Linked DNA regions of Homo sapiens: all the other regions are linked to region 1. The links are contacts of gene promoters, found by promoter capture Hi-C in blood cells and fetal thymus (Javierre and others, 2016). All regions are on one chromosome and are shown on one strand. The core of a region is centred on a gene start or on the middle of the fragment in contact, and the rest is flanking DNA. Distances in the headings are between cores, read along the strand shown.

Evidence for each region. The method cuts DNA at HindIII sites, captures the fragments that hold promoters and counts their contacts. A CHiCAGO score of 5 or more calls a contact.
Region 2: a contact is called between a fragment that was not itself captured here and the fragment with the promoter of DNAH7 in region 1, in 2 of 17 cell types (megakaryocytes and M1 macrophages). The highest score is 5.4, in megakaryocytes.
Region 3: a fragment that was not itself captured here is called in contact with the fragment with the promoter of DNAH7 in region 1 in 2 of 17 cell types (naive B cells and total B cells); the score reaches 5.3 in naive B cells.
Region 4: a contact is called between a fragment that was not itself captured here and the fragment with the promoter of DNAH7 in region 1, in 1 of 17 cell types (activated CD4 T cells). The highest score is 5.8, in activated CD4 T cells.
Region 5: a fragment that was not itself captured here is called in contact with the fragment with the promoter of DNAH7 in region 1 in 3 of 17 cell types (activated CD4 T cells, non-activated CD4 T cells and fetal thymus); the score reaches 7.8 in activated CD4 T cells.
Region 6: a fragment that was not itself captured here is called in contact with the fragment with the promoter of DNAH7 in region 1 in 3 of 17 cell types (non-activated CD4 T cells, megakaryocytes and naive CD4 T cells); the score reaches 7.5 in non-activated CD4 T cells.

The regions. Positions count from the first base shown.
Region 1 is chr2:196,066,317-196,070,557 of GRCh38, forward strand. It overlaps DNAH7 (dynein axonemal heavy chain 7), which reads right to left and starts at 2,521. Exons shown (of 65, transcript NM_018897.3): 1 at 2,381-2,521. The coding sequence starts at 2,395. RefSeq lists enhancers at 1,813-1,862, 2,343-2,432. The HindIII fragment of the contact is 14,129 bases long and covers 1-4,241 here.
Region 2 is chr2:195,683,415-195,687,655 of GRCh38, forward strand. SLC39A10 (solute carrier family 39 member 10) reads left to right here. Exons shown (of 10, transcript NM_020342.3): 3 at 285-492. Among named protein-coding and RNA genes, the nearest start is that of SLC39A10, 28 kb to the left of the region's middle. The HindIII fragment of the contact is 4,899 bases long and covers 1-4,241 here.
Region 3 is chr2:196,456,462-196,460,702 of GRCh38, forward strand. The region is part of intron 1 of HECW2 (HECT, C2 and WW domain containing E3 ubiquitin protein ligase 2); the gene reads right to left. LOC105373821 (a long non-coding RNA gene) reads left to right here and starts at 800. Exons shown (of 5, transcript XR_007087827.1): 1 at 800-886. The HindIII fragment of the contact is 2,047 bases long and covers 734-2,780 here.
Region 4 is chr2:196,432,463-196,436,703 of GRCh38, forward strand. HECW2 (HECT, C2 and WW domain containing E3 ubiquitin protein ligase 2) reads right to left here. Exons shown (of 29, transcript NM_001348768.2): 2 at 670-996. The coding sequence starts at 961. It overlaps LOC105373822 (a long non-coding RNA gene), which reads left to right. Exons shown (of 3, transcript XR_923746.4): 2 at 3,322-3,409. Among named protein-coding and RNA genes, the nearest start is that of HECW2, 160 kb to the right of the region's middle. The HindIII fragment of the contact is 1,787 bases long and covers 1,054-2,840 here.
Region 5 is chr2:196,350,829-196,355,069 of GRCh38, forward strand. All of the region lies in intron 2 of HECW2 (HECT, C2 and WW domain containing E3 ubiquitin protein ligase 2), which reads right to left. Among named protein-coding and RNA genes, the nearest start is that of HECW2-AS1, 93 kb to the left of the region's middle. The HindIII fragment of the contact is 6,415 bases long and covers 1-4,241 here.
Region 6 is chr2:196,326,696-196,330,936 of GRCh38, forward strand. It overlaps HECW2 (HECT, C2 and WW domain containing E3 ubiquitin protein ligase 2), which reads right to left. Exons shown (of 29, transcript NM_001348768.2): 5 at 2,880-2,955. Among named protein-coding and RNA genes, the nearest start is that of HECW2-AS1, 69 kb to the left of the region's middle. The HindIII fragment of the contact is 2,017 bases long and covers 1,155-3,171 here.

The DNA.
Region 1 (4,241 bases), core at 1,271-3,770:
ATGCTGTTGGTCTCATATCCAACTTTTTTCATTCTTTCCCCTTTTTAAGCAATGACATTTCAAAAACATGATGAAGGAAAATGGAATGAGCATCACATCATATAAACACAAATTACTTGATTCCATAACTAGAAAAAGTGCTGGGGTAGAAAAAGACTGACAGCTTTTTCCTCTTCTCTGCCCACAATCTGTAGTATATCTGTGGGGAGCTTCCTGGTCTTCGGATATTTGTGCCTTTAAACCTCTCAAAGTTTTTCAACTGATACTAAAAATGCCTTTTAAAGTTTTAACTCATTTTAAAAATGAAATGAGCAATTGCAAAAGATTTACATTTCTTCTAAATGCCTAATTTAAGAGAAAAGCCCAGACTGCTATTCCTGAAAAATTCCATGTCACTCTCAACCTTCCACTAATGAGATGAATATGTTAAAATCTCCTTCAGCAAATACGATTTTACCACCTGCTCACTTTCTCAAACTGAATGAATATACAAGTAAATGTCACATAAAAAATGGCATTTCCAGAAGTTTAATCCATTCTGTTTGTTTTAGGTTAAAACATAAAAACTTTCATCCTTCCAAAGGAAAGCTACACTCTAAATTAGCATAAATGAAATTCTCAAGATTAGTTTTTAAATTACAAATCAACCAAAACAGTGATAGAGGGCCCTCTGCTGTTCAAAAATAGTAAGTGGAAAATGGAAATCATGTCCATTCTTTTAAGATCCCGCTGCCTCTTCAATAAATCACAACCTTTCTGGAGGGGGAGTGAGAGACTAGGGTGTCATTTCCCAACATCACTTTTATAAAGATGAAGCAAAATTTAGAACTTAACGGCTGGTGGGTTTTTTGTGGATACTTTTTAGTTGTAGATGGGTAAGTTAGGGGAATTGTGAAAAACAGCTATTGAGAAATACCATTGGAAATGTGGTAAAAGTGTATTTTAAACTCTAACAACGTAGGATATGGTTCAAGATCTGGCCGAAGACTAACTTGGGCAACAAGCAAAGAAGCTGCTCAATATATAATAATGGTGACAGTAACAAATGTTATTTTTTAAATCTGATTACATTAATATCATGTAGAAAAAAACTAGTAAGATCTATTAAACAATTGCTCAGTGTTTTTGGTTACTTGTATCTGAACTTTTTGTTTTTTGCTTGTCATTTACTCTTTTATTATTAATACCAATACTAATTATACTTTAGCATATGAATCAGTGTCCATTTCTTAGTTCTTAAATTATACTTATTTTTTTAAAAAGGTTCAAACCAAATTTTCTTGAGCATTTCAGGTATTAATTACTTATTTGATGAACTAACCAATCAGGATCTTCACATAGTTCTGTTAGTAATGTACAACTCAATGGATAGGAGACTAAATCCGTTTTAATACTGTTTCCACAATAAATTCTAACACTACCGAAAAAAGCATTATAAAGCAATAAAAAAGAAATAATTACCGTTTAATATTGTTTAAAAGCTAAATGAAATTTGCAGGCTTAAAAACAACTGTTTTTCTTCCAGGAGGTTTATAGAGTCCTTTTCCTTATTCATCACTACGTAGAAAGCTAGAGTTATTTTCTAGCTAGCCAGAATAATGACCACGTTTAATATCTTCCCATTCTGTGCTGATATTAAGACGACTGACCATTGTTCTGCCTTTCTGTTAGTTGCTCTTAAGTTCAATAAAGAAAGAATTCTTAGAAGAAAAAGGAGAGAAAGACAGAAAGGAAAAAAACGAGAAAAAAAGAGAAAGAAAAGCAGCTATTGCAAAGTGCATCTTTTATCACATACCATGGAATATCATCTTAAGAAGTGCCATATGTCACTTACCAAGGCCTTTCATGTATAGTATAATATTGTATAGTTATGGTATGGCATGGTATCTAATTTGAAATTGACAACAACCTCAAAAAGAAGAAAAGTTGTTCTGATGTTTCCCCCGCTCTGCATAAGAGGTGGGAGAACTAAGGCTTACAAAGACTAAGAGATTTGTCCAAAGTCACATGGCTAGGAGTTGGCTTCGATTCCCACCTTAGAACCCAAACCCGCTGCAACTCCTCGCAGAGCCGCCTCTCACCCAAGCACACCGCCATTAGCACTCTGGGGGTGCTCTGGGCTGTGGCTCCCCCTGCTGGCGCGCCGCTAGGCGGCTAGGTTTGGTTGTTATGACGACCAAGGGCAAACAGCTGGGAAGGGAACTTATAAGGGCATTCACGGAAAGCGCTCAGTAACCCAGGCCACAAGTGGGGTGAAGGAAGCTGTACACCGCGGAGTCACAGCTGGGGAGTTCGCTAGGCAGGAGGGGCTTCCACCACTTCCGAAACGCCTGGGAAGCGTCGCGGCGGCGGCGAGCCTGGCAAAGAGCAGCCCTCTCACCTGCTCACTGCTCATGGCTGCGAGGACGCGCTGGCCTCACCGGTGCTTCTGGGTTGCTCCTGCCCGCGGAACCCCTAGGACGATAGAGGCAGGGCCCCGGGACTTGCAGCGGTCTCAGCTCCCTCCGCACCAGAGCCGTCTAGCGTCCGGGCAGCGTTTGTTGCTAAGCAACGGGCCCGCGCAGGTTCCATTTCCGGTCATCTGTTCCTTCTGGGGCTGGACCCGGAAGCTGGCGCGCGGTCCCGCAAGAGGAGCTTTCTGGGGCGCTGCTGCCAGTGTTGTGAGGTCTAAGGTGTGCGTTGAATAACCAAAGACACTGGGTGGGTCTCCTCCAATATCCTCTGATTACTGAAGTAGATCCTCACACTTCCGCACCCTCCTTCTAAATAAGCCGGATGCCCAGGACTGCTGCCTTAACCCCTCAGAGGTCTCGGAGAAACACTGGAATGAAATGATTACAGATTTCATTGCTAATGTGGGCGAGTGGAGTAATGCGAGGCAGGATCCAGTAAACACCTTTCATTATTCATGTGCTTCCAACCCCTGTGCTGTTGACTCTTCCCACACTCCAGAAAACTATCCTTTGGAAGAATACCAGTAAAGGAACCTTCCAACAATTCTTGAAACCAACATTCACAGATGGTTTACTACATGAAAAGTGGTGTGCTAAGCACAAATGTGACCAAGACATCCATTCGCCACAGGCTGGGGGGTGTCCAAGCCAAGCACTTACCGTGTAGTGGAGACGGTGCTAAGAATGGCAGTCCTCAGTGAGAACATAAAGCACCAACTAATTTTCTCATGGAGGGCATGGAAGGGATGTGGAAGCTGAAATGTGAAGGAAGAAGAAATGCCAGGCAAAGAATGCCGGGCAAAAAGCAGGTCACATACAAAGGCCTGAGACAAGAGAGCATAGCTATTGGAAGCAGTGAAAATGGTTCTGAGAGGTCGATGAGTAGGTTTGGATAAAGGGGATTGGAGCCAGTCTAGAGAAGAAGCTGAGGTGATAAGCAGGTGATATATCTTAAAGGACCCTATAAAAGGGCAGGAGTTTGGATGTCAAAAGCAACTGACCTCCACTGAAAAGTTTTATGCTAAGAAATGGCAGAATTCCATCCTGAAATTAACAAGGAACCCCAAGGGGTCATAAATAGCCAAAACAATCTTGAAATTAAAGAACAAAGTTGGAGTACTCACACTTCTTGATTTCAGAACTTACTACAAGACTATAGTGACCTTAACAATTTATTTTCAACAAATGATGCTGGGGAAACTAAATGTCCATATGCGGAAAAAAATGCAGTTGGACCTTTACCTAAAAACATCATATACAAAATTATCTCAAAATTGATCAAAGATGTAACTGTAAGGTCTTAAACTATAAAACTCTTAGAAGAAAACTTAGAAGAATCGCTTCACGACATTGGATTTGGCAGTGATTTCTTGGACATGACACCAAAACGACAAGGAAAAAATAGACAATTCGGCTGCATCAGAATAAAAAACCTTTGTGCATCAAAGAATACTCTCATCAGTAAAAAGACAATCCACACAGGCCGGGTGTGTTGGCTTACGCTTGTAATCCCAGCACTTTGGGAGGCCGAGGCAGGCAGATCACGAGGTCAGGAGATCGAGACCATCCCGCCTAACATGGTGAAACCCTGTCTCTACTAAAAACACACACAGAAAATTAGCCGGGTGTGGTGGTGGGCACCTGTAGTCCCAACTACTCGGGAGGCTGAGGCAGGAGAATGGCATGAACCCAGGAGGCGGAGGTTGCAGTGAGCCGACATCACACCACTGCACTCCAGCCTGGGCGACACAGTGATACTCCGTCTCAAAAAAAAAAAAAAAAAAGTCC
Region 2 (4,241 bases), core at 934-3,433, 380 kb before region 1:
CTTGGGGATATAGTTGTGAGTCATCCTTATCCATGACAGAAAGTCATTATCTTTCATGTGTTGGAGTAGAAAAATTATTAAAGTCCATGAAAAGTTTTGGGTAATATAGTTGAGTGTATCCCTATTACAAATTCTTATTAAAAAGTTTTATTTGTAATAGATATCTATGTATTACAGATTATTTGCAAGTAATATTTAGAGTATTTCTTAGGCAGTAATTTATTTTTTTGCATAATCTCCTTAAAGACACTCTTATTTAATTTGTTTTATCACTTTCCTTGCAGTGTTTGAACGTCACTCAGTTATTAAAATACTATGGTCATGGTGCCAACTCTCCCATCTCAACTGATTTATTTACATACCTTTGCCCTGCATTGTTATATCAAATCGACAGCAGACTTTGTATTGAGCATTTTGACAAACTTTTAGTTGAAGATATAAATAAGGATAAAAACCTGGTTCCTGAAGATGAGGCAAATATAGGGGCATCAGGTAAGAGAGATTTTAAGTTTTTTCTCCTTAAAATAGTACCTGTACTTACTTTTTAAACTATAGTTGAATTAGAAAAGAATCCTAAATTATTGACTTTCTTTTGTTGTCAGACTTTAAATATATTTTAATCAGGTTTAGATATGCATATTTAAAAGAAACTGGGGGAAGACGGGGGCACAATGTGTTTTATTTATCTCTTCTGGTATATTACAAAGGGATATTTTGCTATGGACGGAGAACTAGATTAAAAATGAAATATAGATTTGTGATAAGTTGATTATTTTTGATGAGCAAATATAAATAATGGGACCCCCTAAATAAAGTTATTTGTTCTTCTAATTACTTAACATTTATCAGGGTGCCTCTGTTGAAAAGCAAAGATGATTAAAATTTTAAAGACATAAAAAGGGAAGCTACTGTGTGTAAACTCCAGGAATGTCTGGGAAATGCCTAACAAACTTGACATGTGAACTTTATTATGGGTATTTCTAGAGAGCTTCAACTAGGGTAAAACCAAAACTATTTTTAAATTTCTCTTAGGCTCTTTTTTCATCGTACCCACTTGGCTCCACCTTGGTGTTCACAGGTACCTCCCACTTAATATTTCAAAACTTATACTCCACACAAAATTTGTACCCCTTAATGGATCCCAAATATCATTAATTTCATTCTTTTGATAAAATCTAGAACTCTTTGACTTTCTTTTTCTCTTTTTTTTCTTTTCCTTTTTTTCCCATTCTATAATCAGGTATGAAGTCCAGTTAAAGCTATCTCTTCAGTATCTTCTAACTTCATCCACTCTGTCATAACAATTCTGGATTTTCTTGGTTATTGGATTGTTGAAATAACTTCATAACCTTCCCTGCCTGTGTTCTTGTCCCCTTGCAAGACATTCTTAGCACTTAAACTAGATTTACCTTTCTAAAATGCAAAGAGATTCTGACACAGAATTTTTTCTTTATAGTGATAGCTAACATTTTGTTAATACATACTTTTTAAATCTTATTTACTTAAACACATATCGCAGACACTGTTCTAAGCTGAATTCATTTACTCCTCACAACACTTTTATGAGATAGGTAATGTTACTCTTCCCAGTAACTTTTCTGATATCTCAGAGCTAATAAGTGGTAGTACTGGGATTTAGTCCTGTAACCATTTTGCTATCTTATGTGTTGTTTTAAATGCATTTTTTTTTCACTAAATTTTGGCAGTAATCCTATGAGGGAGATATTATGATCCTTGTTTTTAAAAACAAGATAAGGAAACTGACAGAGCCCACAAACCCTAAGGTTTGTCTGATGAAACCTCTGAGTATCTAATCCCTATGACATTGTCTTCCAAATTAAGTTAGTTCTGGTATCACCTTTGTGATTTTTCCCATATATCTTTACACTATTTAATACTTTGTATTTTATCACTAATATATATTTTTTATATCTCTGGAACATGGATTTGATGTGATGTGCTAGTTATATTTTTTTCTCATACATTTTAGGAAACTGCATCATGCTATATTGTTCAGAGCCCTTTACTTGGCCCACAAGGCTTTCCGTAATATGATCCTCCCTGCCTGCCTTGACATTCTTAACGCTCATCATTCATTTCTCTCCTCTTTTCTCAGTTCTAACCATAATAAACTACTGATAATAGATTGTGCCATTTTTCTCCCATCCCTTTCTCCCTCTTCACTTTCTAAACCCCCATGCCTGACTGACGACTACGATTCTTCAAAGATTCAGATCAAGTATTGGCCCTTCTGGGTAAACTTAGTGACCATCCTAGGCTAAATTATGTTCCCTTCCTTGACATCTCTAGATGTCTCCCTCATAGTATAGATCTTGGGGGATCTTAATAATTGAATTAATCTGTTTTTGTTGGACTTTAGTTGCTTTAATACAGTGACTAAACCATTTAAGCTCTTATGTTGATTGAATGAATACAATTGCTTAATATTAGTCTATAAGCGTTCAGTTATAATCCAGGAAAGATACTTGTTGAAATGTGTCTTTGAAGATCATTATGTGAATGTATCAGTCAGCCTGGTATACTTCGATAATGAATGTTCTCAAAATTAGTTGGATTTTCATGAACTTTTTTACCATGAAGTAATGAAAAACTATGACGGAATTACTGTGAACACAGTTCTGGATGAAATGCCAAAGACAGAGTGGCTTTAGAGGATAGTAATTAAAATGAGCAAAATGATGTATATGAATATGGACTTAAAACTGAATTCTGGCATAATAAAGGATTGAGAGGACAGAATTTTTAAACATTTCATAGCATAGGAATAAGGTAGACATCCCATTCCAATGTATAAGAATTTTATTTGAGATAGAGATACAAGTAAAAGGAAATATTATTACATAAAAAGTAAAGTCTTCTAGGCACCTACATTTCTATTTCTGGTTAATATCTTTGCAATAGGAAAATAAATTTAGACTAGATAAATTAATTATAATAACCTATGCTCTCTACTAAAATACAAAAAATTAGCTGGATATGGTGGTGCGGCCTGTAGTCCCAGCTACTCGGGAGGCTGAGGCAGGAGAATTGCTTGAACCTGAGAGGCAGAGGTTGCAGTGAGCTGAGATCACGCCACTGCACTCCAGCCTGGCAACAGAGTGAGACTCCGTCTCAAAACAAAACAAAACAAAAACCTATGTTTATTGGGACTTTACCATGTGCTGTACTAAACATTTTTACAAGGATATTTCTTTTAATTTATTAAACCCACTATACAGGCACTTCTGTTTACTTTCATTTGGTGAGGAAAAGGAGGCTTAGAGAATAAGTCAGGTAACTTGCCCAAGGTCACACAAACTGCTGCCAGGTAGCAGAGCCATGCTATGAACTATAGTATTCTCCTTCTACAACATATAATCATAACCACTGTGCTGTAATTCTTATACTTCCTGTTCTACTGTTTCCTCCTGAAAAGGTTTTGGAGAGTGCTTTGCTAGAATATAAGTGGCAGAGAAATGAGGCCAGTTTTATAGAATTATTTTTAGTAGTATTTTGACAGATTTGCAAGTATTGTTTTAAGTATAGATAAGTTGGTGGTTTAAAACAAAATCCAAGAATGGTCTTCTTGGTAAACAAGTGGGGCTCTCTGGTAAGATGAGTAAAAGGAGAGAAAGTGGGGCTTTGAACTGGATTTGAATTCTGATCTTCGAATAGATAAATTTGTCCTCTTTCTTGACTTCATGCTTATTGATCTTGGTGGATGAATAAGCGCCCTGAGAGGCCTAGTCCCTCTCAGGTGCCTGTAAATTCTCACTGTGGCAGGAGAAAGGGGAAGCTAGGTCTGAGATTAAACTTAATTAAAAATAAAATAGATTTATTTGTTCCTTACAGAGAAAAATGGAGACTGACAAGATTGATCTAAAGTTAAAACTAATAGCTTTTTTTTCTTATTTTGAAGGCTTCTGAAAAGATTCTTATTCTTTGTTGTTATGTTACCTGTGGATTATGACTTTTAATGAGAGTTGTCTGTATTGTAATATTGCCATAATCAATATATTGTAATGAAGCTGTTGACAGATGCTTGACTATAGCAATACTGAAAGTTACAGCTTATTCAATCTGAAAAGCCTTAGAGGAAATTGTACTTGCTTTGAAAACAAATATGTTACTAATAGTGAATATTGATTAGTTGTTTGCAGGTGGTTATTAGCATTGTCAGAAATGCAGCTTGAATTAATTATGTGCTGATAGATGCTAATAATTGTTAGAGATAATGCCCT
Region 3 (4,241 bases), core at 507-3,006, 390 kb after region 1:
AAGCACTTTCTGTATATGGATTGTAAATGGCTCCTTGGGACTGACCATATGTCTTCTGGAGAAAGGTTGGGGAAGCTTCACTGCAAACATGGTCTGAGCTTAGGCTGGTCACAGATTGATTACTTGGAGACCACTGCAATCAGCAAATAAGAGTAACCATATACTAGCATCAGTGATAGGGGACAAGGTACAATGACACTGAAGTGGGTCCAGATGGTCTTCTTTTTTACTGCTCTTATGGGACACTTTCCTTGAATTAGAGTAAGGCTGGCTAAGAAACTCCGGATTTACTTTTTTACAGATTTTCCAGAATATCAAATAAGGGAAATTGATCAAGCAAAACATACCAATTCAACAAAACTAGCCCACAGAGCAGTTATAGTACCTTACAGTAAAAGATGCTACAAATTTAAGCAACCTCGGGTTTTCTTCATTCTTTAATACACCAACACATCTAACACATGTGTGAACTATTCATTTGGAAGAGCCAAAAGACTATCAAATAAGTTTATTGCTTCATATATATCTATTCCTGGTATTCATATTCCTGTACCAAGCTTCAAGCAAAGAAGGAGCATCCAAATTAAGCCTAAGAAATAGAAAGTATCTGGAAAGAATCAACAGTGCCTAATGAGTAGGTACGGCATGGAATCAAGATATGAAATTCTATATGTTGAGCTGCTGATACGTTTTGGAGAGATACTACACATATGTCTCTGCTCTGATGTCATAAAGCTTTGATCACATCAAGTTTCAATGGCTTACAACTGCTTCACTTTTACACAGAATTTTTGAACTAAAAGGGCCCTCAGAGAGAATCTCGCCTGATCCATTCATTTTGAATAATACAAACTGACTTTCTTCATTCTGGACGACTTTTTCCAAGGTTGTAAGTACCAGAGCTGGAATTAGGATGTAGATTTCTTAACTACCTGCCCACTACATGGTACTGTCACCTCTTAACTATACTCCAAGCATGTTGTTCAATATTTTAGCATATGAAAGATCTTTTGAAAAGCTGTTTAAAAAATTACTTTTTAAGAATGTGTGAGTTTCTCAAATACACAATACTTTCCTCAAACTGGGTCAGAAAATCCAGAAATAATATAAATTGATTATCTCAGCCTATTCACAGTACTGTGCTATTCCTTACTACTACTGTGACCTTATGTAAGTCAACCACACTGGTCCTTTATATTCCCGACCCTAAAAATGAAGGAGCGGGACTATATGATTTCCAAGATACCTCTTAGCTCTACAAATTTTGTAAGTCTGTGATTCATTTAAAAATAAGTATAACCAGGTCTTTCACTTCTATTCTTCTTTTTCTCAGAGCATACTCATACCCGCTACTACACAAAACCTGAAAAGCATTATATACACAAGCACGCTATACTTAGGAAGTATGTCCAAATATGCCAAAGTATTTATCAATAAAGCATTATGGTATTTGATCTAAACAAATAATCAAAAGGGATAATAGCCACAATTCTTAAAAGTCACCATACTCTACAATACTGGGAACTGGCTGGACACAGTGGCTCACATCTGTAATCCCAACACTTTGGGAGGCTGAGGTGGGAGAACTGCTTGAGCCCAGGAGTTCGAGACCAGCCTGGGTAACATAGTGAGACCCCATCTCTACAAAAAATTAAAAAATTAGCTGGGTGTGGCAGCACATGCCTATTGTCTCAGCTACTTAGGAGGCTGAGGCAGGAGGATCACTTGAGCCCAGGAGGTCAAGGCTGCAGTGAGCCATGATTGTGCCACTGCACTCCATCCCTAAGTGACAGAGCAAAACCCTGTCTCTAAGAATTATTAAAAAAGTAAAATATTGGGAACTATCTCTTTCCTGTGCACTCTACCAATTCTATTAAATTCTACACCTGAAATATCCAGGCTCTGAAAAGGAAAGGTCTCATAATGCTGGGAGTCTCTGGATCTTAACTGTTTCTCTCTCTCCCTCTCACTCACTCACACACACACACACACACACACATACACACACCCCAAGGGGATGAAAATATGTGACTTCGCATTACTAGTACTGAGGCAAATCATACAAGACTCTAAAAAGCTCCAGATGGAAAACTGTGAAACCAGATGATAAAGATGACAAGTGTAGGCTGGGCGTGGTGGCTCACACCTGTAATCCCAGCACTTTGGGAGCCCGAGGCGGGTGGATCACGAGGTCAAGAGATCGAGACCATCATGGCCAACATGGTGAAACCCCGTCTCTACTAAAAATACAAAAATTAGCTGGGCGTGGTGGTGTGCACCTGTAGTTCCAGCTACTCAGCAGGCTGAGGCAGGAGAATGACTTGAACCCAGGAGGAGGAGGTTGCAGTGAGCCGAGATTGCACTACTACACTCCAGCCTGGCAAGAGAGTAAGACTCTGTCTCAACAACAACAACAACAAAAAAGATAAGTGTAAACACACTGGCTAAAACTCATATGTTCACATGACTAATTAACTACTAGTTGTTTATTAAGGATTTATTATATGTCCAGTTCCATGTTAGGTACTGCAGGATTTACAGAATAAGGAATGATTTGGTCCATGTTCTCTAGTAGTTCTCTGAGTAGTCCAGCTGGGAGAGATAATGCTAAAAAAACAAACAAACAAATCAGCACAAGAAACACCACAAGACTATACGTATAATTAAATGTTAAATTCTGCACATAAGTGATGGAGAAATTTCCAGAAAAGGAGTACCACTTCGGATCAGATTAGACAGGGAAGGCATCTTTGAGGCAGTAACACTGAGCTGAGTCTTAAAGCTTGAGAAGACTTAGCTGAAGAGAGATGGGAGATGTAGACTATGAGAAATACAGAAGTGGGCTTAGAAACTCCAATGAGCCTTAGCATGAGGAGAAGAAAACAGTTAAAGGGGGGAAAAGTACAGGTTAGAGTATTTGAGTATAAAGGAGAGTACTGGAGAGTGGTTTAAAAATTAGGTTGTATAGATACAGTAAAAAATAAAGATGAAATCCTAAGCCCCCCCAACCTACTGAACAGACCCCCTGTTAGCCAAGGGGACCCCAGAAATCCTTGAAAACTCAGTTCCCAACCATGACCAGACAGGAGGTCAGACGTGCCTCATGATGTCCCCTCCCTCCATAACCAACATTAGGATTTCCTCCGTAAGGATTAAACAGAAACCAGCCCTTTGGAAAGCCCCACTCCACCCCTGATGTCAATCAACCTCCTGAAACCGCCCCTCCTTTTTGTGGTTTTCAACAAAATAACCAACCAGCATTCCTTCTTGATAAGAGACCACAGACCACAGAGTGGTTCTGGCCAGTCCACGGAGGATGTGCAGGGAGGGGTTTTGCATCCTCTGCTTCATCTTTTGAAGTCAGAGATCCGAAAATTCCACCCTGGATCATGCTAATGCCGCCATAGTTAAAAACCATGGGTCCCCTGGTGAAGGATGAGGCTCAGCTGTGCATGCGCATGTTTCTCCCTTCCTAAATACACATGACTCCTCCTATTGCTTACAGAACACGAATATTCCTCCACCTCCTTCAGTGTGAATCCCTGTCTTATTCTTCTCACCCTCCAATTGTTTGTTTCTGGTCTCCAATGGAAGGCTATGCTTCCCAGTCTGTCAGAATGGCTACCCTGCAGGCTGCAACCCTTTATGAAAAATAAAGCTCTCCTTTCCAAATTTATGAACCTCATCATTCTTCAGCTGACAATGAGGCTGGAATTAAAAAATCTAGAAAACCAAGGAGTCAGACTTGATGCATTAGAGCCACTAACAGTTTATGGGGATGGGCATAATTAAAAGACTCTAAGAAATATCAAGTAAGACTTTTGATTGAAGTTAACAGAAGAGAGGCATTTTTATTCGACTTTCCTCCTAAAGACAACCAAAATAAAAAGAACTCAAAAAAGAACAGACTCAATATTCACCCTAATTAGAAGGCCATCTCATCTACAAGCCATGAGGAATAATTTCCAATGAAGTAAAAATTGAACCAAATTGAATGAGGATACAAAAACAAAACCGATTAAACCTTTTTTTTTTTTTTTGCATGTATTCATTTAGCTTTTTCTTTTAAAGAGCAGAGAACATATAATTTCTGTCTAATTTTTTGCTTTTCTCCCAGGGCAGGGAAAAATCTCAATTGTTTTTTGTCTTGTTTTGTTTTTGTTTGTGAGACAGGGTCTTGGTCTGTCACCCAGGCTGGAGTACAGTGGTGCCATAACTGGCTCACTGCAGCCTTAACCTCC
Region 4 (4,241 bases), core at 697-3,196, 370 kb after region 1:
CATCGTACTTTTTGGGATGTTTCATTCATCGCTCACTCAGCAAATGTAAGTTCACTAAGAACAACAAGCGTAAATTAGCTAAACAGAGCTGAACTGTTTTTATTAAAGCAAATAGCAATTATTTATAAGTCATTTGTCAGGAAAACATGACACTTCCTTCCCCTAATTGATCTAGAACAGAGTCATGAAATTTAAAAATAAAAAGACATCTTAGGCTACAAGTAGTTCTTAACAAAACTCAAATTTTAGAAAATACAGAGCTTTTAAAATATGTCATCTAAATCTACACGTCTCTTTCATCAGTTTAAAAATGTTAGTAAATGTTAATAGATATCTCTTTCTAAAATGGGACTGCTGATCAAGAGAAAGGTGAAGTTTTATTGGTGCAATTACTTTTGCATCGACCTAAGAGAAAATACTGTAACACCTGCAGGTTCTGAAGGTTCTGACATTTAATGAGGTAGAGATGTAACCACAAACTTCATAATATAAGCAAATGTACTGTTGAATCTCCTCCTCCCAAAGAAGAAAAAAAATAAATTCCCAGAATCTGCTATGTGTATATGTGCATGTGAATTTTTTTCCAGAAGAAAATACAGAATGGTAAAAATGTCAAACTAAAAACTTGTATGCTCTGAGTCACATGCAAGTCCATTCCACTTGACTCACCTATATGATAAAGTCCAATCCAATCACTGGGGTCCACCTCCTCTTTAATGTCCCAGAAGATAATGAGGTTCTGGGCTTGCCCCAGCGTGTACTCGTACATGCTGGCAGTTAAGCTGGAGCGGCTCTCAGAAGTCACCAGGTCGGTGTCGCTGTTGGCCCGCTGCAGGGTCATGTTCTCTGGCATGGAGCTCTGGGCGGCAAGGCTCTGGAGGTTCTCTGGGCTCAATGTGTACCGCATCTGGGGATTTCGACGCCTCACAAAAAGCAGGTGCTCCCGGGCTGAACTAGCCATCCCGTCTGCTTCTCTGGGATTGGCTGCCTACAAAGCTGCAAGAGACAGATAAACATAAAACATTAGTGCTACAATACGAAGAATCAGATTTAAGCTTTCCAGACATAAAGCCTTAAAGGGTGTTTAATAAGCCTGATCATGCAATAATCTTCTGTTGTCAAAATAAAACCTATTATTCTACTGTTAAATGATGATGTCAGAAACAGCTTCTATAGAGTCAAGTCACATGATGGCAAAGGCTGTCACATGCCTGCGACCCTCGATTTCACTTGGCACAGCTTTCTCCTAGCAATCAAGGAGGAGAGGATTTCCTTGCCATCCCTTTTAGGTCTATCCTTTCCCAAACACCCCACGTTCAAACATGGCATCCTCTTCTCGTTTTCCATCCCACACACATATTTATTTGCTGCTGCAATGAAATTTTAAAATAGCGAGACACATGCTAAATACAGTTGAAGTACACCATTAAGTACAAGTTCACTTGCTCAGTTTCCTTAGCATAAGAATGTAACTCACTGAAATCTTTTCAGGAGCTTGCTCAAATGTTACCTCTTCTCCTAAATACAGTGGCCATCACATTTAAAACTGCAGCACCCCAGCATTCCCCATCCCTCCTTTCTTGATTTTTCTCTATAGCAATTTTTGTGATCTAACGTACCATACAATTTACTTATTTATTTGGTTATTGTCTACTTCCCCTGACAAGAATGTAAGTTTCACAAAGGCAGGGATTTTCATCTGTTTTGTTGGCTACTTTATCCCCAGTGTCTACAACAGTGCCTGCTACACGGTACATGTCGATAAATATTTGTTAAATAACAGATGCAGGAAGAGTAAGCATCTTTCTCCTAGATACTTCTTGAAATAACTTTTATCTCCAGTCCCTTTCCTGAGCCTGCCCCTTGCCATCCTGACTTTCTGGCTGGTCCACATTATTTGGGCCATCTGGATCATGATAAGCTATTTCCTTTGGCTCCCGATAAGCTATTTCCTTTGGTTCCAAAGGAACAAGGCCTTCCCTGTTGGAACTTAGACAGCCCCTTTTTGGCTCACTGAGTCTAGTTATAAAATACTTCCAGATACAGACAGAGACTCCAGTACCTCCTGTACTTTAACGCAGCACAACTAAGGTTCTATCTACCAGCGCCTTACCTGTTTGCCATGGGTTTACATTACCTCACTCGGATCTCACTAGCTTTACATAGAATTGATCTGATTTTCTTCTGTACCATCCCTTTCAGAACTACATAATCCACTCATGAATTTATGGATTTCACATTTATTCCGCAATCTTGGTACCTGCCACCATCTTCATTATGCCATGTTTCATCTCAGGGCAAACCCTATTGGGTCCTGGGAAGTCTATGAAAAAACTTTCTGCCACTCACACTACCACTTCTCATATGATATATTTCAACACCCACTGCATGAGTTTTCATTTAAAAAACAAACAAAGTAACCTTGGGTGCAATATTTACATGACAGCTAACGACCTTGGCTACTGAGTCTGAGAGGAGGGCAAGGGAAGATAGGGTTTTTTCTCCCATCCTCCCATTGAGTTCACAGACACTTTGGATGAAGAGGACATGCTCCTGTGCTAGGTTTATAGCACTTGCAAATGTATTTATTCAAATAGTTTCTGCCATAAAGTAGATCTCATACTTTGAGCACTATCTCTTGAATGAAAATAACTTGGACAAGATATCTTTTGTGAAAAGGATAGAAATAAAAATGAACAGATAAGCTGATTTACTCAGTTCAATGGTTTTAAATCCCATATCTCTCTTCATAAAGTTGGCACTTATTTTCTGTATGTGGTCTATGGTAACTCTGATACCATAAAAGAATCCATAATTATTAGAAAATCTCCAATCTATGAAGCTTAAAATACAGGTCAACTTCTAATCTGATAGTTTCAAGAAATTTCATTTTACTGACTTTCAACAGGCCATTATTTCTTTATAAACTCAGTGAGTCATGCAGCACATCAGCTTCAGCAAGAACTATAAATAATCAACTCCTAACACATTGTAGTTGAATAAAAAATGCAGGCTGTATATAACTAAACTACTTCCCTGAAAGAAAGAAATAGGCCACAACCCTTATAGCTTAAAATCACAACAGAAGAAATACTGACAATTATTCCTCTCTAGAAAAAAGTGAAATAACATGTATGTATGCCCACATTACTGTTTTTAAATTATCTGTATTTAAGCAGAGAGACAGGTTAGCACAGCAGCTAAGAGAAAAAGCTCTGAAGCCCAACTTCTGGATTTCGGTTATATCTTTACTTTCTATCACTCTATGATCTTAGACAATTTATTTTAACTCTCTGTCCCTCTGTTTCCCCACCTATCCAGGAAGAACATAACATCTGCCTCATAGGATTTTGGAGAGAACTAAATAAATCAGTACAGATAAAACATTTCAAACAGTGTCTGGCATATAGTAAGTGCTTGGTCAAGTTTAGTTATTAATACCATTATGTGACTACATTCTACTTTAATTATATCAAGAACTGGTTTTAATACTCCCATAATTCCCACCACCCCTTCTACTTAATCAGCATCTTCAGTATTTCAAAGCATAGCGCCTAACAGAAACAAAAGAGCCTTGTAGGCAGTGAGGACCTCAGATATCTCAGAGCCCAAGCTTTGGCCCCATAACACTGACAAGAGCCATTCCCTGGTCTTCGAGCCGGGCCTGGTGGCACGCGCCTGTAATCCCAGCACTTTGGGAGGCCGACGCAGGCGGATCATGAAGTCAGGAGATTGAGACCATCCTGGCTAACATGGTGAAACCCCATCTCTACTACAAAATAGAAAAAATTAGCCAGGCGTGGTGGCGGGTGCCTGTAGTCCCAGCTACTCGGGAGGCTGAGGCAGGAGAATGGCATGAACCCAGGAGGCGGAGCTTGCAGTGAGCAGAGATTGCACCACTGGACTCCAGTCTGGGCGACAGAGCGAGACTCCATCTCAAAAAAAAAAAAAAAAAAAAAGTTGAAACTCAACTTCATCACCAGTAGTGGGTTCATCGTTCATGCAAAAATAACTGTGCTCCTCCTAAGTGAAAAGCATTAAGGATACAACAGAGCAAAAGTCAAAGTCCCTAGTTCAAAAAAGCCTGCATTCTAACAAGAAAAGACACGCAACTAAGGGCCAAAAACCAAATACATAATACATATTTGTTTTCAGTGAAAGAACAAAAAGAGCTAGAAATGTGTGAATCTGCTAGCTTAATTGCACCTGCAAAAATGTATGGAGCATCTACTACTACATGT
Region 5 (4,241 bases), core at 565-3,064, 280 kb after region 1:
GGAATGATTAGTCATCCTGGTGTCTGTGCTTGATTCATATGGTTCTGAGCTGTTAGGTTTAAAGTGTCTTTGGAAGAGTTTACGGAGATCTCCTTTGAGAAGTCTACAAATCTAAGCCAGACATTGTTTCCTCATCCATTCCCTAGACATATGTATTTCTTTACCTTCCACAGTTCACATTTTTGGTTCTATGAATGGTCATCAGAAGCAACATATTTAAAGCTGAATTCAGAGGTCAATGTTACCATTTTTGCTTGGGCCTCAGGAGATTATCCTTTTCTTCCCTGGAAAAGTTGATAATTATATTAACCTACAATGTAATTATAAAGAGTAGTCTTTTAAAAAACTAATTCTTTTTTTTTAAAAAAAATGACACACCAAGCTAAAATAATTTAAACAGAAAAACTTTAAATTTTTTTTCAAGTTCTTTCTTCCCCATAATATTCCACACACAGAGATGGGTGTGAAAACTATTTTTAAAAGATTAATTTTTTTCCTGTACATGATTCTTGGATTTCCAGAAAATTATCCTTTTAAGATAATAAGAGAATATATAGGAAACATGAACAGACATATCAGACATATCCAAACATATTCTAGATTTGGAAATGTTTTTATGTCTATGTTAAATAACTCCAAAACCTCCATACGGTACTTGAAATAAAATAGAAACAAAAAAAGTATCCAAAGCACTTACCCTCCTACCAATCAACCCAGGAGAGTTAAAAATAGACGAGAAATTTTTTGAGAAAGATGCCATGTGACCGATTGTGCCAGAGAGCAGAAAAATAATACTTACAAATTTTCTTTTGCTTTAAAGTAATTCCATCTCCTCTCTACATTTTCTTAAAAAATGGCATAAATTCTAAATTGATTTTCAATTATCTTTTGTATATAAATTGAAAACAACTATGTCCTGAGATTGGAACCATAAAGATGCTTGATCTTATTATGGGTACACTCGGGAATTAGATGCCTGTCTGGAATTTGGGATTGGAGAGCAATACTAAGCTAGGAGTTGAATCAAGATTATCATTCTAGACCTGGGCAAAGAACACCCCTTCAGAGGGACTGCTTGACTGTTAAAATGGTACAAATTTACCAGCAAGTACCAGGCCAGTTACTGGAATCCCAGAGCTACATTGAGGAGAAAACTGTGACGACGACTTTGAGAGCTGAGCTATACTGTGGAAGACAGGTGGGTCTTCACAACTGAATGTACCAAATGGAGCACCAATTTTATTAAGTGCTAGGAGAATTCACTGGCAAACTTCCTTATGAATTTGCAAACTTAGCATTAGTTTTTAACACAATCTCCTTAGATGCCCAATTCTTTATATTAAAGTCTTCTCTGAATGGAGACAAGAGTGTGTCTGACAATCATGGCACCACCAGGCCACCTGCTAAGAGGGCACCTACTGGCGACTACGGCTTTGAAGCCACTTGAATGGCACCAGAATGATTTGCTGAGAACAGTGTGCCCGAGAATGCAGAAATGGGCACCAGCACATTACTGGGTAGAAAAAAACAACACGGGCTTAGAAGAGCCAATGACAAGACTGCAAGGTCTGGCCTTGGGAATATCTGTGCACTGAAAGGTGTGCAGGACACTATCTCTGACATGGACCTCATCACTGCCCTGGAAAGGAATGCTGGCAGAGTGGAGAGGCACAGGGCACACTTGTTGAACTCACAATATGTACTATCAAGTTTAAGAGAGATGTTTTATTGCTGTATCCTCTATAGCAGGGTATCACAAGCAGGGAGCCAACTGGAGAATGTGAAATGTCTTACTAGATCCAAACTGGGTGACATATAGTCAAGTCTGAACCACACCCCTGAGGGGTCACCTGCACACTCACACTTCTAGATGTACTAGGCAAAGGGAGGAGGCTCTGCTCAGCAACTTCCTAGATAAAAACAATTGGTCCTAAACTATTTGATTAAACACTCATTTGACAAGGAAAAGAAATTACTGACAGCCCAGTGAGAAGAAACACTTGGACTCATTTCAGTAAATCCCTCCCAAGAGTTACAGTCATGGCCCAGTATACCAGATAATAAGGAGCAGTTCAGAAATGGCTTACAAAAGAATCAATTTCAAACACACGTCACACTGGCATATAGAAACATGTCTCTCTTCTGTTCAGTGGCTCCCTATTCTTCTCAGAGTGAAATCCAAAGTGTTTATGATGGCTTGCAGTGTCCACAGGACATGGCTTCCCACTCCCTCCAATTACAGCTCTGACCTCACCCTTTCCTACTTTCCCCGCCTCGCTCCTTACCCCCTTCCAGCCACATTGACCTCCCTGATGTCCCCAAAGGTGTGGTCAGGATTTGGCTCCAGGGACATTGCTCTGGCCATCCCATTCACCTGGAACTTTCCCCGAGATACTGTTATGGCTCAATTCCTCCCTTCAATTTTGTGGCTTATACATCACCTTTTCAATGAGACCTACTCTGACTGCTTCATTTTGAAACGCAAGTCTTCCTCCAGCATTCCCAGACTATCTTACTTTGCTCAATTTCCTATCCATAATCCTTATCATCTTCTCACATACTCTATAAGAATCTAGTTACACATTTAAATATATTGTCTGTCTTCTTCTGTTGAATGTAAACTCCAAGAGGTCAAGGAATTTTGTCTATTCTGTTTACTGATGTATCCCAAGTGCCTAGAATAAAACCTGACACATAGTAGGTGCTAATATTTGGTTGAATGGAAGATATTGATAATGACAAGAGGCAGATAAATGCCTAGGTACATAGGGGCGAATCCCTGATGAAATGCCACCTTCAAGCCAAAAACAGCCTGAAGGCTGAAAGACCACACTGCTGGTTCTGGATGAAAGCCGTGATTCAGAGTGAGAACCTCTGTTCATGTTTGCCCACCCTTTCCCCATTGATTCTTTCTGAATAATGCTTTTTAACCAACCAAATGTTGCCTTTTCCAATACTGCCTATGGTCTGTCCCTCTCCCATCCTGTGCCTATAAAAACCTCAGACTCAGCCACACTGGCAGAGACAACCTGACTTAGGGTGATAGATGACCTGACTTAGGGTTAGAGACTACTTTCCTGTCCCCTCTCCATTGAGAGCTGTTTCACTGCTCAGTATAATTCTCCAACCTCATCACCCTTCAATTGTCAGTATGACCTCATTCTTCTTGGATGTGGGGCAAGAACTCAGGACCCACCGAATGCAAGTAATCAAAAGGCTGTTAATACTGTGGCCCTTTGCCCTCTGCCAGTGGAGGGCAGCCACCCCATGCAACAGGAAGCAACATCAGGGCCAAGCCCCAGCTCTGGAGCCACAGGCCAGAGTGGGGCTAGGAGCTAACTGGGCTGTTAATACACCACCATCAGTCAGGCTGCAGATAGTGGGACTAAAAGAGCTAATTACCACATTGTAACACCCCTTCTGAGGCTTCAGGGTTGTGGCCACCCCTGCCTGGGCACCACCGCATTCCCATCAGGGTGACATGGCTGGTCCAGCCACAAGCTCTGCATGGAGCCTGCTGCTGTACCAGTGGTTGGAATGGCCGGCCAGACCCCACACTCACTTGCTCACATACTCCCTCCCGCTAGGGGCTGAGCACACAGTCGCAGTGGCCCTGGGTTCCACACTGGAGTGCAAGCCAACCAAGGCCTGGTGGGCTGACTAGACAGGGTGCCTCCTGCTGTGGGGGCTGAGAAAAATCCTGCATCAGTATCTTGATATCTTCTTTTGATTATATGATATTAATTGAATATTAGTACTATATTCTTTAAATATACAAAAAAGAAATAACATTTTCACCATGGAACACACAAAGCCTTTTTAAAGAGATCTCCATCTTATTCAGTGTAGAGAAAAACAGGGACAACATTGCAAATTCTTGGTAAGCATTATCAGGCGAATTCCACAAAACCAGCTTAAACTCTGGATCTTTATAATAAGAATTTCCAATTAACATTCACACTTAATTCATCCACACTGCTGATGTGACATTCAACTTTGTTTATATCCTACAGTTGGTCACACCAAAGCACAAAAAAGATTAAGAGGCTTACCTAAGATCACATAACCAGTTTCGAGTAAGGCCTTTGAAACATCTTAAAGTTCCTTCTTGACAAGGATTTTCAGAACATTTCTAAATTAAGATTTTTTTCCCCAAACTGAATGTTTTACTACATAGGATTTGTGAGAACTCAAATTCTTTGATAATGCTCAAATGGAAAATTACTAAAGGCTTACTTACA
Region 6 (4,241 bases), core at 913-3,412, 260 kb after region 1:
CCTCCCAAAGTGCTGGGATTACAGGCGTGAGCCACTGCACATTGAGAACACTGCATGAAATATATAGCAAGATCTTTGATCTGAAAACCAGTAGGAGAAGGAAAAGACGGGTAAAGAACTAGATAGGCACTTCAGAGAGGCTGCCATAATCTCATTAGCCGTGCAGTCCCCATTCCTGACACTTCGTAAACTATGTACTCATTATTAAATGCAGAATTTGCATCTTACTGTCAGTTTAATGATGCTACTTTCACTTGGCTTTCTTCAGCAGGGAACAGCTTTGAGAAGAAAATGCAATTGCCACATTCATTTTCTTGCCTTTCTTGATTATGTTGCCCTTGAACCCAGACAGAAGAATGATATTCTTTATATATTAAATCTATGCCCAAAAAAGGGTTCTCTTTGTAGTAAATAAAGAGTAACATAGACAGAAATGAATGCCACAAGGTCTGACAGAGCTAAATCATTCACAAAAAATATTCCTTTGAACAAAAAGCATTCCACCAGACAATTAAGTCACTGCGATAAATAATATCACTGTTAGATAAGCCTGATACAAAATTTTTCCACAATGGGACATTGTACAAATAAATCTTCCTTAATAAATACAATAAACTACCAGTGATTTTTAATCTGATTATTCAGTTCCCTTTATCCATCTCATTTCTGATCTTTTCTTTTTTGTCTTTTACATATGCTATTGCTCACAAATATCCACACCATATAATAGGCCAAAGAAGGACTCAAAGTCACAAAGGTTTGACGTGTTAAATATCCTAAATAAAGCCTTATTTGCAGCATGTTTAAAATATTAATGAAAATACATTTTTAATTTTAGCCATAAAATTCAAGTATTTGTGCCCCTACCTATCCATAGATAATCAAGAGTGGAACATTTGTAGGCAGCCATTCTAAAGTGCTTAAATGTTCTCAGATAAATATTATCATCTGCTGTTAGTATGCTACAACCAGATTAATTTTTAGAATTAACATTATAGAATTGGTTTCAGCTCCTAGTCATTTCTGTACACTGTCTGCAAATGTCTGGCTATATGGTAAGAAATAAAACAGATGTTAGGTAGCTAGCCTCCATGTGAATAGAGGTGCGATGTTGGAAGAAATGTGTAAGGAAGAAGCATTTGGCTGTGCCTCAAAGCTTACTTCCTACTTTTTAGGAAAATGCCCTAGGATTTTTAACTTGCAGATGGTCATTCTCACATAGTCAGTTAATAACATCCCATCTGGAGTCAAAACCAATAAGTGTGTGTCATGCTTAGAATGATACGGATCACCTAAAAGCATAGGGTAATAATTTTAAACTAAGAAACCCATGGTTTATATCAAAACATCATGCTGTACACCATAAAAAAATTTTTTTTACCTGTAAATTAAAAAAACAAAAACAAGAAACCCATGGTGTGGTCATACTCTAAATTTTCTGAGCTATCAGGGTCGACAAATTGTTTCCTGCCTGTCACCAGGGATTTTAGTAGCTTCAGACCCTCAATACTGTGAAGGTTTAAAGCACAGGTGTCCAGCCAAAATGTTTTTAGGAAACAGGCAGATAAGAGGGGTAGGGAGATAGTACCACAGGCAGTGGTTATTTTTAGTGCCCTTCTGCAAACCTAGATATTTTTTAAACCCTGATGGTTCCTAACAAAACAAATTTATTGGCCAAATTTGAACCATAAGTCACTAGTTTACAGCTGCTGAAATTCACCAGGGAAGCCAAGCAAAAAAGCAAGCTCATATGGGAAAAGGAGAAACATGCAAAACCAAGCACAGATACTCAGAAGGCCATGGGCCAGCAATGAACTGATGTGTACACTTTAGTCATATGTGGTAATTATGCTTTGTGGAATAGTCTGTTTCAGGATCAGGTCTTTTAACGCTCACTCTCACAACACGTTTTTTGTTTGTTTGTTTGTTTTTTGCAATCAAGAAAAGTGGATCTAATTTAAATTTTGGAAGTACTACAACTACAGAAAAATGAAAACAAAACATATTCCAGTGAAGGAGATCCATTAGACTTTATTTTCTATGTATTGTAGCATAGTTATCTGTTTTAAAAGTCTATTTCAAATATGGATTTTCTTATTCTTGACTTTATGACTACCAATTTATTTTCTAAAATCAGTGCCCTTCAAACTTTTTCAACAGTGTCCTATGTATGAAATACATTTTACATTGCAACCTACTACACATAAATATAGGGATGTATATTATTGTATATGAAAATTTTCAGTTTATATAAATTGATGCTTTACCCAAAAAAAATCCCTTTAGTGGTAAACTCTGACATTATTCTTTTTTTTTCAGTTACTGATTTTAACTAAATCAAACTTACAAACTGGAAATGAGTCTTGTCTCATAACTTGAAAAGCCGTGCTTTACTTGTATGGTAAACATACAAGCAATTTGAACATTTTACTAATCAGAAAACAAGCCAAAAATAATTGGCTTATCCACTTTCCAATTTGCATGTGTATTCCTCCACAGATAAAGAAGTATATTGGCTTTTGTTTTCCAGTCTTCAAATTTTTTCTTTCTCTAGCTGAAGTAAGAATAAATTATTTTCAATAATCAAAGCTCCTCAGTGAGGTTAGCACATTACGTTACAGTTTTTCTTGAAGTAACTATACATAGTTATATAGACTGTCTATCGCCAGAAAACTTGGTAGAAGAAATAATTTCTGAATTTATATTAATAATTAATTTATCATGGTAAGAGATATACTTGAATTTTCAGAAGTATGACCCCCCAAAACTAGTTCACATATCATCATATCATATACGAAAGTCTGCAGAAAGAAGTGACTATTCATACCTTCGAAACTGTACACTTTCAAACTGGATGTCACGTTTAAAGACATTCTTACCTGACAATGTAAAGCTAACAAGTTTTCGAGAATGCAGGTTTCCTGAAGCACCTCCCTCCATGCCTTCTGCCCCCATCTGAAAAGAAAAAACATGCATCTGAAGTTTCAGAAGCATATGATGCCACTGGATCTGACTAGGAAACCATGTATGTTCCTAAATGCAATGATTTTTGCATCAAACGGGTATTGTATCATGTGTCCTTTCATTTCCCAATCTTGGAACAGAGACACAAATGCTGATTCTTGGAGGAAAGACTAAAATTTAATCTTTACCACAAATAAAAAATATATAAGCTTCAAAATTTCCAATAACTATGAATCAAACTATGTCTTTTTTTCCCTTTGATAAGAATATAGTTGATTTGTAGTAAATATATTACTATTACTATATTAAACATTCTCTTTAGTTAAAAACCAAACATCAAGTTCCTTCAGATTTGTTAGGAAAACCTAGAATAAACGAAACAATTGATTCATATCAGACCTACCCATATATACAGAATTATGCTCTCTCGTCAAGTATTTCTGAAAATCCACATGGAGTCCTATCTCCCTTGTAGGCTTGTGTTCTATTGTGCTGCAGGTACATGGCACATGCTACTATAATTAGCAATAATAAGAATTTGCAGTGCTATTATACTGATAACCTTTTCCTGAAAGCTTTTGAGTAAATTATACCTCACAAGAAGCCAGTAATTTATAAACCACCTAGCAAATTTAGACCTTTCTCTCAAATTATGTACAATTAATGCACAATTTGTGGTACATTAGGAAGAAAAACCTTCATATTACTCTGCAAAATAAGTCAAAAGAAGTCAACAGAATTGAAGGCAGAATATACCCAAATGTGGGAAATAGAACCACATTTTAATTCTGAAGTTTAGATTAAATTCTTCTGACAAAGATTATTTCCTTGAGCAAACTTTACTCAGGCTCTTTGGAGCTCTCTGCTCAACTAGGCAGGCCTTGGGCTTTTATCTCCATCCTTATAGAGTTTAGTTTTAGCAAAATCCCTGGTAAGTCAGTTTAGAGTCAATCCCCACCCTCAATATGTGATCACCCTTGATATCAGATCGAACTCCTCATCTCCCACCAACCTCCATGCGATATCTGATCACTCTGGCCCCGCCATCAGCAAGAATTCTGTTAGGTCAGTTTAACAAGAATCCCCCTAAGCTCTTGGTAAATTTCCATCTGCCAATCCCTCCACTCCAACCCTGCTTCTTGGCTACTAACCCCCACTTTCCCTTGTTGTATCTGGAATTGAGCCAATTCTATATTGAGTTCTCTTTTCCCCTAATGCAATAGTTCGTGATTTGAATTTGCTTTTACTACTTAACTACTGCCCAGGTCTGATTTTTT